3 separate regions of the Homo sapiens genome follow, and all the other regions are linked to region 3. Evidence: promoter capture Hi-C in 16 types of primary human blood cells and fetal thymus (Javierre and others, 2016). All regions are on one chromosome and are shown on one strand. The core of a region is centred on a gene start or on the middle of the fragment in contact, and the rest is flanking DNA. Distances in the headings are between cores, read along the strand shown.

Evidence for each region. Contacts are between HindIII fragments. The CHiCAGO score rates a contact against its expected background, and 5 or more counts as called.
Region 1: a fragment that was not itself captured here is called in contact with the fragment with the promoter of VWA3B in region 3 in 2 of 17 cell types (monocytes and naive B cells); the score reaches 8.0 in monocytes.
Region 2: a contact is called between a fragment that was not itself captured here and the fragment with the promoter of VWA3B in region 3, in 4 of 17 cell types (monocytes, naive B cells, total B cells and 1 more). The highest score is 10.1, in monocytes.

What each region holds. Positions count from the first base shown.
Region 1 is chr2:97,978,667-97,983,040 of GRCh38, reverse strand. All of the region lies in intron 1 of TMEM131 (transmembrane protein 131), which reads left to right. Among named protein-coding and RNA genes, the nearest start is that of TMEM131, 15 kb to the left of the region's middle. The HindIII fragment of the contact is 1,602 bases long and covers 1,543-3,144 here.
Region 2 is chr2:97,997,469-98,001,954 of GRCh38, reverse strand. LOC124905591 (a long non-coding RNA gene) reads right to left here and starts at 4,312. Exons shown (of 2, transcript XR_007087148.1): 1 at 3,061-4,312; 2 at 14-902. The HindIII fragment of the contact is 2,196 bases long and covers 1,638-3,833 here.
Region 3 is chr2:98,084,395-98,089,062 of GRCh38, reverse strand. It overlaps VWA3B (von Willebrand factor A domain containing 3B), which reads right to left and starts at 1,896. Exons shown (of 28, transcript NM_144992.5): 1 at 1,700-1,896. RefSeq lists enhancers at 1,167-1,667, 1,702-1,771, 1,668-2,168. The HindIII fragment of the contact is 2,164 bases long and covers 930-3,093 here.

The DNA of each region.
Region 1 (4,374 bases), core at 1,094-3,593, 110 kb after region 3:
GGAGGAGGAGGTAACGATTGGTTGGCTGCTTAATTGATCACAGGTTCATATTATTACTAACAGGCTTCAGTTGTACCTAATTACAAGAAACATTTGTGTGGCCTCCAACAAGGGTGTTGGGGCTGTGCTCTTTCTGTAGGCTTCAGGGGAGAATCTTTTTCTGTCTTTTTTAGCTTCTAGAGGCTTCCTGAATTCCTTGGTTCATGGCCTCTGACATCACCCTTTTCCTAATCCAAACATCTTGCATATCACATTCTGTTCCTCTGAGTGTGATTATTAATATATTTGGCCCATCTGACTAATCTGGGATAATCTCCCCATCTCAAAATCCTTAATTTAATCACATCTACAAAATTCCTTTTGCCATGTAAGGTAACATTCACAGCTTCCTGGGATTAGGACATGGACATTTTGGGGAGTCATTATTCAGCCTACCACAGACATTGAGTTTCTAATGAGCTTTCTTGATAGATGTGACACCAAAAGCACAAACAACAAAAGGGGAGAAAATAGATAAAGTAGACATCAAAATTTGAAAGTTTTGTGCTTTAAAAAGCCCTATAAAGAAAGCAGAAAACCCACAGAATGGAAGAAAAATTTTCGCAAATCATGTATCTGATAAAGGGATATGTATCTAGAATGTATAAAGAACTCATAACCTCAGTTACAACAGACAGTGCAATTAAAAAATGGGCAGGGGATCTGAATAGGCATTTCTCCTAATAAAGATATATAATAAACGTATGAAAAGATGCTCTACATCATTAGCTATCAGAGAAATACAAATGAAAACCAAAATGAGATTCCATTTCACACCCACCAATATGGCTACGATCAAACAGATGGATAATAAATGTTGGCAAGGGTGCGGAGACATTGGAATGTCTTGTTGCTTTATGGGTAACATAAGATGGTGCAGCTGCTTTGGAAAACAGTTTGGTAGGTCCTGAAAATACGGAGTTACTGTATGACCCACAGTTATGCTCCTTAGTATATACTCCAAAGAAACGAAAACACAAAAACTTGCACATAAAAACTTGTGCAGGAACATTCATAGCAGCATTATTTATAGTAGCCAAAAAGTGGAAACAACTGAAATGTTTGAAGAATAGATCAAATGGAATATTATTCAGCCATAGAAATGAGTGAAGTATTATTATGAATGCTTGTTACAACACAGGTGAACCTTGAAAACATTGTGATAAGTGAACAAAGCCACTCACAAAAGACCATATAAGACCATAGAAGCCATTTATATGAAATGTCCAGAATAGGCAAATCCACAGAGACAAAATAGATAACATGGTTGTCTAGAACTATGGAGAGCAGTGTAGGGAGTGACTGATGATGGGTACAAGGGTTTTTCTTTGGGATGGTGGTTGAACAACTCTGAATACACTGAAAACTATGCATTATATACTTAAAATGGGAGCTGTTATTAAACAAGTTTTATTAAAAATTGATAGGCTTTTCATCTAAGGGGGAAAAAACCTAAATGAGATACCATTTCTCACTTATTTGGGTGGCAAAGTTCTAAAAGCTTCACAACACTTTCGATGAGACTGCAGGAAAGCACGTGTTCTCACACCTTGTTAGTTGGAATGCAAAAAAGATACAACCTTAATGGAAAGAAGTTTGGCACAGTGTCTAACAAAATTACATATATGTTACGGTTTTCACCTAGCAATCTCATTTTTAGGAATTGGCTGTTTTAACAATACAAATACATATATATAAGGTTATTCATAGCATGATGATTTGTGAATGAAAACTATTGGAAATGACCTAAATGCCCCTATATAGTTGAATAAATTGTTACATCCACATAATGGATCATTATGCACCTTAAAAAAGAATGAGGAAAACCTCTAGAATATGCTTTTTAGTGATTTCCAAAGTATATTGATAAATGAAAGCAGCAAGGTTATAAAGAGTGTATGTGTGTGGATAGCTACCTTAACAGATTTTTAAACTTTTTTTTTTTTTTTTTTTTTTTTTTTTTTTTTTTTTTTGGTGTGTAGTTCTGTGAGTTTCAGCACATGTATAGATTTGAATAACCACTACCATAGTCAGGATACAGAACATTTTCATTACCCTCCAAAACCTGTGCTATCTCCATATAGTCCACTTCTGACTCTTGTCAACCACTGATCTGTTATGTGTCACTGTAATTTTCTCTTTTTGAGAATGTCATATAAATGAAATTAGTGTGTATAATTTGAGATTGTATGGTTTTAAGACTGGTTTATTTTACTCAGCACAAGACACTTGAGATTCTTCCAACTTGTGTGTCTTGATAGTTAGTCTCTAATGTTGAGTAGTATTCTGTTGTATGAATATACCATGATTTATTTGTTCATCTGTTGAAATTTTGGGTTGTTTGCAGTTTGGGGCTGTTATAAATAAAGCCGCTTTGAACATTCATGTGTAAGTCTTTGTATGCACATGTATTTTATTTTCTCTCAGGTAAGTACATATGAGTGGAATGTCTGGATCCTATGGTAGCTGTATGTTTAAGAAACTGCTAACCTGTTTTCCAAAGCGGCTGTACCATTTTATATTCCCATAAGAAGTGTATGAGAGTTCCATTTCCTCCATATGCTTGCCAGTGCTTGGTATGGTCAGTCCTTTAATTTTAGCCATCTTAACAGGTGTGTAGTGGTACAGGCATTTCTCATTTTATTGCACTTTGCCTCCTTCACAGCCAATATGCTGTTTACAAATGGAAGGTTTGTGGCAATCCTGCCTGACACAAATCTATTAGCACCATTTTTCCAATAGCATATGCTCACTTCTATTTTTATGTCACATTTTGGTAAGTCTCACAATATTTCAGGCTTTTTCAGTATTAAATCTGTAATGGTAATCTGCAATCAGTGATCTTTGATGTGATTGTGTAATTGTTTTGGGATGCCCACAAACCACACCCATATGACACTGCAGGCTTAACTGATAAATGCCTGTGTTCTGACTGCTCCAACTGGCTGTTCCCCCACTTCTCGCCCCTCCTCAGGCTGTCGTTTTCTCTGAGACAACAATATTGAAATTAGGACAATTAGTAGTACTAAATAGCATCTAAGTGTTCAAGTGAAAGGAAGAGTCACACCTCTCCCTTATAAATCAAAAGCTAGATATGATTAAGCTTAGCGAGGAGAGCATGTCAAAGCTGAGAAAGGCCAAAAGCTAGGCCTCTCGTACCAAACAGCCAAGTTGTGAATGCAAAGGAGAAGTTCTTTAAGGAAGTTAAAAGTGCTACTCTGGTGAACAAATGAATGATAAGAAAGCAAAACAGCCTTATTGCTGATAGGAGTAAGCTTTAGTGTTCAGGATAGAAGATCAGACCAGCCACAAGCATTCTATTAGGTCAGAGTTTAATCCAGAGCAAGGCCCCTCTCTTCTCTTCAGTTCTATGAAGACTGAGAGAGGGGAAGAAGCTGCAGAAGAACAGTTGGCAGCCAGGAGAGGTTGGTTCATGAGGCTTAAGGAAAGAAGACAGTTTCATCACATAAAGTGCAAGGTGAAGTGGTTAAGTGCCGATGTACAAGTTGCAGCAAGTTTTCCAGAAGATCTGGCTAAGATCATTGATAAACGTGGCCACGCTAAACAACAGATTTTCCATGTAGATGAAACAGCCTTCTTTTGGAAGATGCCATCTTGGTCTCTCATAGCTAGAGAGGAGAAGTCAGTGCCTAGCGTCAAAGCTTCGAAGGACAGGCTGACTCTCTTGTTAGGAACTAATGAAGCTGGTAACTTTAAGTTGAAGCCAATGCTCATCTGTCATGCTGAAAAAATTCTAGGGACCTTAAGAATTATGCTAAATCTACTCTGCCTGTGCTTTATAACTGGAACAAGAAAGCCTGAATGACAGCACATCTGTTTATAATGTGGTTTACTGAATATTTTAAGCCCACTGTTGAGACCTACTGCTCGGAAAAAATATTACTTTCCAAATATTACTGCTTGTTAAAAAGGCAACTGGTCACCCAGGAGCACTGATGGAGATGTACAAGGAGCTGCATGTTGTTTTCGTGCCTGCTAACACAGCATCCATTCTGCAGCCAAGGATCAAGAAGTAATTTCAAGTTTCATGTCTTATTTTAAAAATACATTTTTTAAGGCTATAGCTGCCACAGAGACTGAGTCCTCAGTTGGATCTGGGCAAAGTCCATTGAAAACCTCCTGGAAAGGATTTGCCATTCTAGATGCCATTAAGAATATTTGTGATTCATAGGAGGAGGTCAGAATATCAACAAGAGTTTGGAAGAAGTTGCTTCCAACCTTCATGGATGACTTTGAGGAGTTCAAGATGTCAGTAGAGGAAGTGACTGCAGATACAGTGGAAATAGCAAGAGAACTAGGATTAGAAGTGAAGCT
Region 2 (4,486 bases), core at 1,486-3,985, 88 kb after region 3:
AAGTACAGTTGAATGACGGGTGAGGCAGGCTTCTTTAATAATGGTGTTTAGGAACATTCAGAAACTCAGGGCAGCCTAAAAATCAACTTTAAAGTACTCATCAGTACTAGAGAGGACAATGGTAAGGGGAGGTGGAAGGAACAAGAAAAATACTAGGGTATTATTTCCCTCCTTTTAATTGAAAGACTACCAAACCACATGACATTTTTCAAAAGTCACAAGATTAATAATTAAATGTTGCAGGAGAGAAAAAATCAGAGTGGCGCTGGAGCCTATTGTGGAGGAGTTGAAAGGGCAGGCCAAGATTTTGATTCATGTTAAACTTGGCTGTTTGTCCCAAAAAACATTTCTAAAGAATGCCAGAAAAATAAATATAAGCTTATAAACTGTGTCAGTCAGCTTGGAAGGAAAATATTGAACAAACCCATCATTAATTCTCACATCTAAATCCAGTATGTTTATTAGTAAAGGTATGTATGTGTTGTGGTAGTGGTCATTGATGAGATCTTAGTTCATGTAGATTTAGAAATTGCAAAGGAATCTAGTTTTCCTGAGGAATATATGAATAAGGATCTTCAAATATGGGATCCACACTGATACAGAGCTCGGCCCACATGCTCAGAAGCTACTACCCTCATCCTGCTGCATGAACTTGACTGAGGTCTATTTGCCCTACCCTAGGTTACCATAATTTACTACTAAGTTGAACAGACTTAAACCTTAGGCTTCGTGAGCTGACTTTTTTTAAGAATAACACCCAGGGAAACCTCCCAAGGAATAAGGGACACAGGAGACAAAATAAGCAGGTTACTCTTCATCCTGAATAAGACAGACAAGATGCCATATTCCTTCTTACTCGCTTGACTGCTGTGGGCTTCAGACTAGATGAAAGAGACAGAGAACTGAAAATAAAGAAAAATCAGTTAAAGAACTTGAAAAGGCTGGGTAAATAAAGAAATGAGTAGAACCCAGAGTTGCCTTCATTTAATACTCCTCCTCTTTCCTCCTTTGATTCATTTCTTCCTATTCTACCATATTTTGTATATGTCTCTTATTTACCAGATTTGAAGCTCCCTGGAGGAGAAGGACTATGTCTTCGTGATCTTTATCTTTTAGTTCTGTTCATTCATCCATTCATCTATCCATTCATGTAATAAGTGTTATTGAGTGCCCAATATGTGCCAATATTGTAGAAGCTCGGAATTCATCAGTGAGCAAAACGAATGGGGGGAAAGATTGGTAATAACAATACATTTAATGAGTAAGTAAAGTATATAGTATTATAGAAAGTGATAAGTGTTATGGGGGGAAAATGAGTGCAAGGTAAGGAGGATTGGGTCTTGAGGGTAGGTGTAATAAGCTGCAGTATTAACAGTGGTGATCAGGGTATGCTTCGCCAAGAAAATCATAACTGAGCCAAGACTGAGAGGAAGTATGACAGTGAGCCCAGCAGAGAACCAGGGAGAAGGGGGTGGGGAGAAAGCACTTCAGGTGGAGGGCTAGAGGATAGACCCTGGAGTAGAAGCATTCCTGATATGTTCCAGGAACAAAATGGTGGTCATTTCAGCTGAAACAGACCGAGCCTGGAGGAATCCAGGAGGAATGGAAAGACCGGGGCAAGCCAGATCAAGGAAGCTTTTACCCTGAGATGGGTATTCAAATATTCCCTGTTATTGCTTTTTTTAATATACAGTCTCTAAAAATTAAAATTTCACTTTCCCCAACTGCTTTTAAAAACATTAAGCAGGCCACTGCAGGATGTGAACATTGAGAGACGTGACATGTCTTATGTTTTAAATGGATCATGCTGGCTGTCAGGTTGACAATAGACTATAAAAGTACAAATTTATGTCAAAATATAAAGCAAAGCCCAACAAAACTCAAAAAAAAAAAAAAAATCAAAGATGAGTTTATATACTGCCAGGGGTGGATGTAAACACACCAGTGAAAAAGTTCACTGAGTAACTCATGAATTAGGAAAAGTCAGGGTTTTTTAAGTGTGAGAAAGAGAGAAGGGAGTTTGGAGGTTATGCGGATTAAGGGCTGGAAAGTAGTGCTCTGGATAGGTTGGAATAGTGTTGATAAAACATGTCCCTTTGTTAACTGGTCAGAAAGGAGTCTTTGGTTAGGTCTAACAAGGGTCTGGTATGGGGTCACTCAAAGTTCACAGTCCTTGATCTGCTTCAGTTGGTTAGAACCAGTTGTGGTAGAGCATAGCATTCCGTTTTGATATCTACTATGCAAGTGTTGTAAGTGGAAAATTTTCTTTTACAGGTGGAAACAGGGAAACCTGTTAGGAAGCTCTTGCAGAAATCCAGGCAGCGGATGACAGGGCTCATACCAGAGTGGAGTAGTGCAGGTGGTGAGAAGCAGTTAGATTTGGGTACATGTGGAGAGAGTAAAGAATGACTCCCAGGTTTTTGGCCTGTGCAACTGGATGGTTGGAGTTGCCCTGGAGATAGGAAAGGCTGTGGGTGAAGCATGTTTGCATGGGAAGATGTGGAGTTCATGTGAGTTTAAGACACCTCATTATACACCTGAGTGGGAACAGCAATAGAGACAGCGAGGTCTGGCTGGTGACATGAAGTGGGGACCTGAAAGTGTATAGATGGTGTTGAACGGCAGGATACCAGGTGCATTCACCTATGCAGCAAAGGAGATAGAACCCTGGAAAGCCCAACAGTTTACTCCCTCCTAGTTCCAGTTTTAATTCATAGAAGGCATTCTTGCACACCTCCTTAAGTATTTTGTGGAATGAAGTGGAGGTATCAATGGATCAAGGATCTTCGTGCCTAATGTGGTGTTTTGAAAAGAGTGAGTGCTCACTAATAGCTACTTTTGACAGTCTCCTATGTCCCAGACACTAGTCTATATGCTTCACAAACCTATATGCTTAATCTCCCCAAATTTATATCATAATCCCCATTTTTACAGATTAGGAATCTGAGGCCAGAAAAGTCATTTGCTCAGCATCATATAGCTAGTAAAGGCAGGGATGGGATTTAAGTTCAAATTTGTCTGAGTCTCTTATAATTCTGCCTTGAATGGTAAATTACTAACCTGCATAGAGAGCAAAATGAACAGAAAGTGAGGAGTCCCAACAGCTTGTAGCTCCTGGCATATATCACTGTGCAACAGTCTTCAATCTTGAGCCTGTATCAGAATCACTTGGATGCCTTGTTTAAACAGATTGTTGGACCTCAACCCAGAATTCCTGATTCCACAGGTCTGGGATTTGGCCTGCTAATTTGCACTTCTAACAGGTTCCCAGGTGTTGCTGCTACAGCTGGTCTGGGGATGACACCTTGAGAACCACTGGTTTAGCGAGTTTTCCCTGACTCTGCCAGCTAATACCTCCACCTGCCAAATGGCCAGGTCTCTCCAATTTCCAAAAGGGAAAAAGAGAAAAGTTCACAACTAATCAGAACTATTTGAGAGTCCTTAGTGTGATGGTTCCTTCAATTTTAACTCCTGGTTCTCTCCTGAGACACATGAGGGTTGGGGAGTGGGGGTAGAGGATCATAGGGTGATGGTGGCTCCACGCCAGGTTCTCTCTAACACACAGTTTACCATGCTGTCTAGCAAAACGTCTTTCACTGTTAGACTCTCAGTGGCCTCATTGTCCTTTCCTGGGAGGAAAGTTCCATCATCACCCCTCCTGCTCCTAGTGTCCCTCAGGCACAGGGGAGGGTTCAGGTATGGTGGGCCTTAAAAGCCTACCCAACTATTGGGAGGGCTCCTTTAAGAACAAGAATACAGGCTTATAAATACACAATTAGGTTCAGGGACTTGGAAGGAACTTGTGCAAGAGAGGGGGCCCTGCGGCTTAAGCTTCATTAGCTGCATGGGAAATCGAACTCTGATCAAACATGTCTGTATACGTCTAAAGATCCAATTACAGACAGGTGCAAGTTATTTCCCATGGAGCTGCTGAGCCTCAGGCTAACCAGGGGATGTGGCTGATTGCTGTGTAAGAGAACCTCAGCACTTCATGGTTGGAAAGGCTTGTTTGTCCTGAATCTGGCCATGGGGGAAGGGCTGCTGACTTGCAGAGCTAGCACGTTGGAGGCTAAGCAAAAGCGCTCAGTTACATATCCTTGGGTTTGATCTCTTCCGTGAGTCAAAAGCCTTCCAGAAATCTCTTGCCTCAGACATTTTAAACGCCAACTTAAGAGATAATTATTCCTATTTCATTACATCAAAATAAAATTTGACTACTCAATTTTAAGGCTAATATTCAAAAAAGTAAAATTGCTTATGATTAATTTTTTGAGACGGAGTTTTGCTCTTGTCGAGGGTATAGTGCAGTGGCGCTATCTTGGCTCACTGCAACCTCCACCTGCCGGGTTCAAGCGTTTTTCCTGCCTCCGGAGTAGCTGGGATTACAGGCATGCACTACCACGCCCGGCTAATTTTTATATTTTTTAGTAGAGACGGGTTTTCACCATGTTGGCCAGGCTGGTCTCGAACTCCTGACCTCAGGTGA
Region 3 (4,668 bases), core at 647-3,146:
CACTCCTGTAATGCCCCCTTAAAGTGCCAAAGTGCTCTCTTGGCACTTTGGGAGGCCAAGGCGGGCGGATCACCTGAGGTCAGGAGCTTGAGACCAGCCTGGCCAACATGGTGAAACCTCGTCTCTACTAAAAATACAAAAATTAGCCGGGCATGGTAACACACACGTGTAATCCCAGCTACTAGGGAGGCTGAGGCAGGAGAATTGCTTGAACCCAGGGGGCAGAGGTTGCAGTAAGCCAAGATTGCACCACTGCACTCCAGCCTGGGGGACAGAGCGAGACCCTGTCTCAAAAAAAAATAAAGGGGGATATATTATTTTCTGATAAAACTATGCTATTTATTTATTTATTTACTATTATTCAGAGTTTCCTCAGCTGAGGTTATTATAAATTGGGGAACCAAGTAACCCAGAAGTCGGAAACAACAACATACCGGAGTTGAGCATTGCCCTAAGTTTTAGAGGCCATCCCAAGAACCATACATAGAGTTTGGATAGGAAAGTATTTCCTTAGAAGAAGGAGGAAGTGTAAAAGGAAAAACAAGGAAGTGAAAGTCTGAGCTGAAAATGTGGGCAGGCAAAGCTTTGGGGAAAATAGAAAGGTTAAGCTGGCAACTGTACAAGGGCCCCGTCTACTGGAAGCAGATGCTCCTGGGCTGCCCTGGGCGACAGTCTTGTGAAGTCAGCATGCCCTCAGAGAAAAGGTCCTATGTGCTCGGAGGTTCAGGGACAGTGCAGGGTTGAGAGTCCATTAATCCAGTTTAGACATTCAATAAGCTTCTAGCTACTTTATTATCAACACCCCAAACTTCCTATACCCCTGTTAGTTTCTGAAAAAGAAGTCTGGGCTAGGTGGATATATATCTTGTGATTTAGGTGAATTTGTGAACGATGATTTTTCCAGGAAGAAAGGAAACTGGGACGAAGCTTCATGATGGATCCTGATGCAACTCTTCCCCAGAAACCCTTAAACCTCCTCCCATTTTTTCTGCCCTTAAGGGACAAGGCTTGGCTGTGATCATTGGCTCAAATAATGTGGACAGAGACAAGGATATTGAAACGGACTGTCCCACCGTTGAGAAAATAGTCAAGAAGGCAATATCTGAGAATAATTGGAGTGCTTTAGGAGGAAGGTCATTGCTGAGAAGAAACAGAGCTTCCAAGAAAATGAAAGGAAAAGCTCTACCAAATGGAAACTAAATCTACTTATTAAGTCTTATTTCCATATAAGGAGGGTGAAAGAAACTGATATGATTGTGAAACCATGTAAGTGTTGCTTTGGCTTTTAGACTATACATATTTATCCTTATGTTCAGGAAATGTGTTTCTTCTGGTTCCCATGTTCCCTCCAAAGCCCAGGTGGACTTCATCACCTTGAACTGCTGGCCTATGGCATAGACAGAAACTAGGAAAACCGCTTTTCCACCAGAGCGGCTGGGCGTGGGCTCGGGTGAGGTGTGATGGAAAGAGCTCTAGAGTAGGAGGGGTCGGTACCTTGACCCTCGGCTTGCCCTGGGTAGCGGACGATTAAGTGGGCCAGGGCAAGTCACCGAGCTTTCCTGGTACTGTTTCCGCATCTGTAAAGTGGGCGTGTAGTCCACCTCAGAAATGGCATTTTTCCAAGACCTCCCTAGGCCGCTTGTTGGAAGGCTCGGCACCTCGGCGGCTCTCGTGCGGCAGGCATCGCTCCCACACTTACTAGGCAATATGTCGGGTGGAAGACGTGGCGGCTCCCGCTCAGCAGCCACCCTCCCATCCTCCCGGGCCCGCCTGACCCGAGAGGGCGGGCGAGGTAAGCATCCCGCTGGTGGATAAGGCAGCGATTCCGGCGGGCGAAGGCTGCGCGCCGGGGGCGAAGGATTCCAGCTGTTCTAGGTCTCTGTGACCCGCGCCTCTGGTTCCGAGCGCGGTCTGTTGACGACGGCGTCTCCGCGGTTGCCTGGACACGGCCAATCACAGCGCGGCTCCTGGAGCCGGCCCCGCCCACAGACCGCGCCCTCACTGGGGCGATGGCTGCGGACCGTGGCCAAGAGGGCGGGGCGCCGAGGCCGTCACCGAGCCAGGTGCGGAAAGCCGGCGTCCGGAACCACCCGGGCCGGGACGACCTCCACCCCAGACCCCCAAACAGAGGCCACGCTAGAGGGACAGGGCGAGTGGCGTTGCCCCTTGCGCCTACTGTCAATGGGAAAATTAACAACAGCGGAGAATATGAATGAAAGAATGAATGAATTAACAAACAAATACACTGATGAGCTGGGGTAGAAATATAGGGTGCGAGCAGACAGGGGAGGAAGGCGCCAGAGGCCGAGGAGAGGCGAGGAGACTGCGGGAAACGCTACAAACGAACTTCTTTTCATACTTTTCAGCAGAGCATTGACCCCTGTGTAGTTTTAATTTTCACCTCACCACTGTCAGGCGATGCTCTCTTCCTTGCACAGTTCAGAGAAAGACGCTTTAAAAGAGGTGGGGCAGTTCGTTGTAGCTCAGCCACTGGACGTGGGCGGAGCTGAGACAGACAGAAGGGACAGGGAGCTGCAATTTTGCAATTGTGGAGGCAGGGGCTGCAGTTGCCAAGAATATTCTTACCTGTTTGACATGAATATTTCTATAGGCATTATTTTCTCCATTCAGCTTTGTTTTTAACCTTTGTTTCAGTGTTACCTTATCAATTAAGCAAAAGGCTCTAAATATTTTCCTATTTTTCCAGTCACCAGGAAATAAAATTGTGCTTATGAAAAGTATCTTTAAAGTCTTAATAAAAGACCCCACAGTAAGTATTGTTTTTAGGGTATTGGGATAGTAAACGATTTTAGATTTTAAAATTATAGAACTGACCAGATCATTTGCAGGTTTTTCAAAGAACTAATAAAACATAGTTAATGTTAGAACTGAGTAATTCTGTCCCCCCAAAAAAAGTCTGCTTCATCCACAGGAATTTATTTCTCCTGCATTCTTTTAATGCCTCTATCATTTAAAAAGTACTGAAAGATTTCATTCCATATCACAAATCATTCCTGGCAGTTATTAGTTTATATATATTTGGCCCTGCAAATGAAACCTGCCATCCACACCACCAAAAAACAAGCAAAAGCTTGATAGTACTGAAGACTGTTCAGAAGGGAGTAAAACACCAGCCTCGCCCATGTTTGCCAATGACCCATTAATCCTTGCTGTCCACACCCTGCCACACTAATATTCTTGGGTCACGGGGGTGAGACAGAGCACACAGCAACACATAGCCAAATGCCCTGCCTCACATGGTCACGCCAGGCACTCTTGTTCCCACCTTCACCCCATGCCTGCTCCTTTCCCTAGGACACTTGCCACATACGTGCAAGTCACCAAGATGATCTGTCCCTATCTTTCGTGTTTATGTGTCTATAAGCATACATTCTGTTGAAAATGTGAAACATTACTTACTTAAATTGTAGAATGATAAGTGAGTAGAAGTTTAAGGTTATTTTGAAGCATTAAATAGTTGGTATGGACTTCAGTTTAGCTAGTTACAGAATGGTTTGCCTCATTTTTATTGAGTTATTTGAAATAAGAAAACCTTTAGCACAGTGGTGATACACTACTATACTGAACTTTTGACAAATTTGTTTTGAGTTTACATTTTTACAGATAATTTGTATCTTTCCTTAAACCTCAGTAAGCGACATTGATCAAATCACTGCCATCTTTGATGTCAAACTTCTGGACTTTACCATTAAGGGCTCAAATTATACTTTCAGACTTTTGCTCATTGCCTCCAACACAAACCCCCATCCCAGAGAGACCCACCTGGTCCCTGCCTCTGAGCACAGATGACTTTACTCAGGCCACCCAGATTACCACAGTTTGGGAATCACCGTCCCTTCAGGGTCAGCTCTAGCTCTTCTCTCTCTCCCCAAAGCCCTCCCATGGATGCTGCGGCCCTAATAACTTCTCTCTACCTGTACAGTCTCAAAGCATTGCTTGCCAGTACCACACTCTTGGCAACCATGTACAAGCCTTTGACAAGCCTTTCGTTGTTATTTGACCTTTGTGCTGTTTACTTTTCAGGTTCAATGGGTTTTCCTTTTCTTTATACAAGTCTATCACTGCCACTGCTTGGGCTTATGGCCATGATCAGAATGTTTGGTGGAGGAGGGAGGGTGATAAAGGAAATGAAGGGAGGAAAAGCATTTTCCTAAGCCCACTGCAAAAACTGGAACCAGAGGAGACGGAGAATGTTAACTCCTTGTATATATGTGTGAGAAAGAACCTGAGCTGGAATTAAAACAGAGGCACTCCCTCTGAAGAGGAAGGAGAAACTGAGAGAGTGAGGCAGTTCCTGCTGAACCTTTGTTAGCTCTTGTGGTGAAGGGAGTTTTCGCCATCAGGGGCAGCCTTGGGAGAGGTAGGTGGGGACAGGGGCCATCACGGGGAGGTAGAGCTCAAACAGAGGTTTCTCTATGCTGTGATGTTCTTGAGTTCAGCATTCATTATTTGGGACAATGAATGTAGACTCCTGGCTCTCAATCTAACATCTTTGATGAGGGTCAGAGCTTTTTTACTACCCTTGGCAAAGACTACGTTCACTTTTACCAGACTGAATTAACACTTAATCATAGCTAGAATGTATTGAATGTCAGACCATGTTCTAACCTCTTTAAATATATTACATCATTTAATACTTAGAAAAGC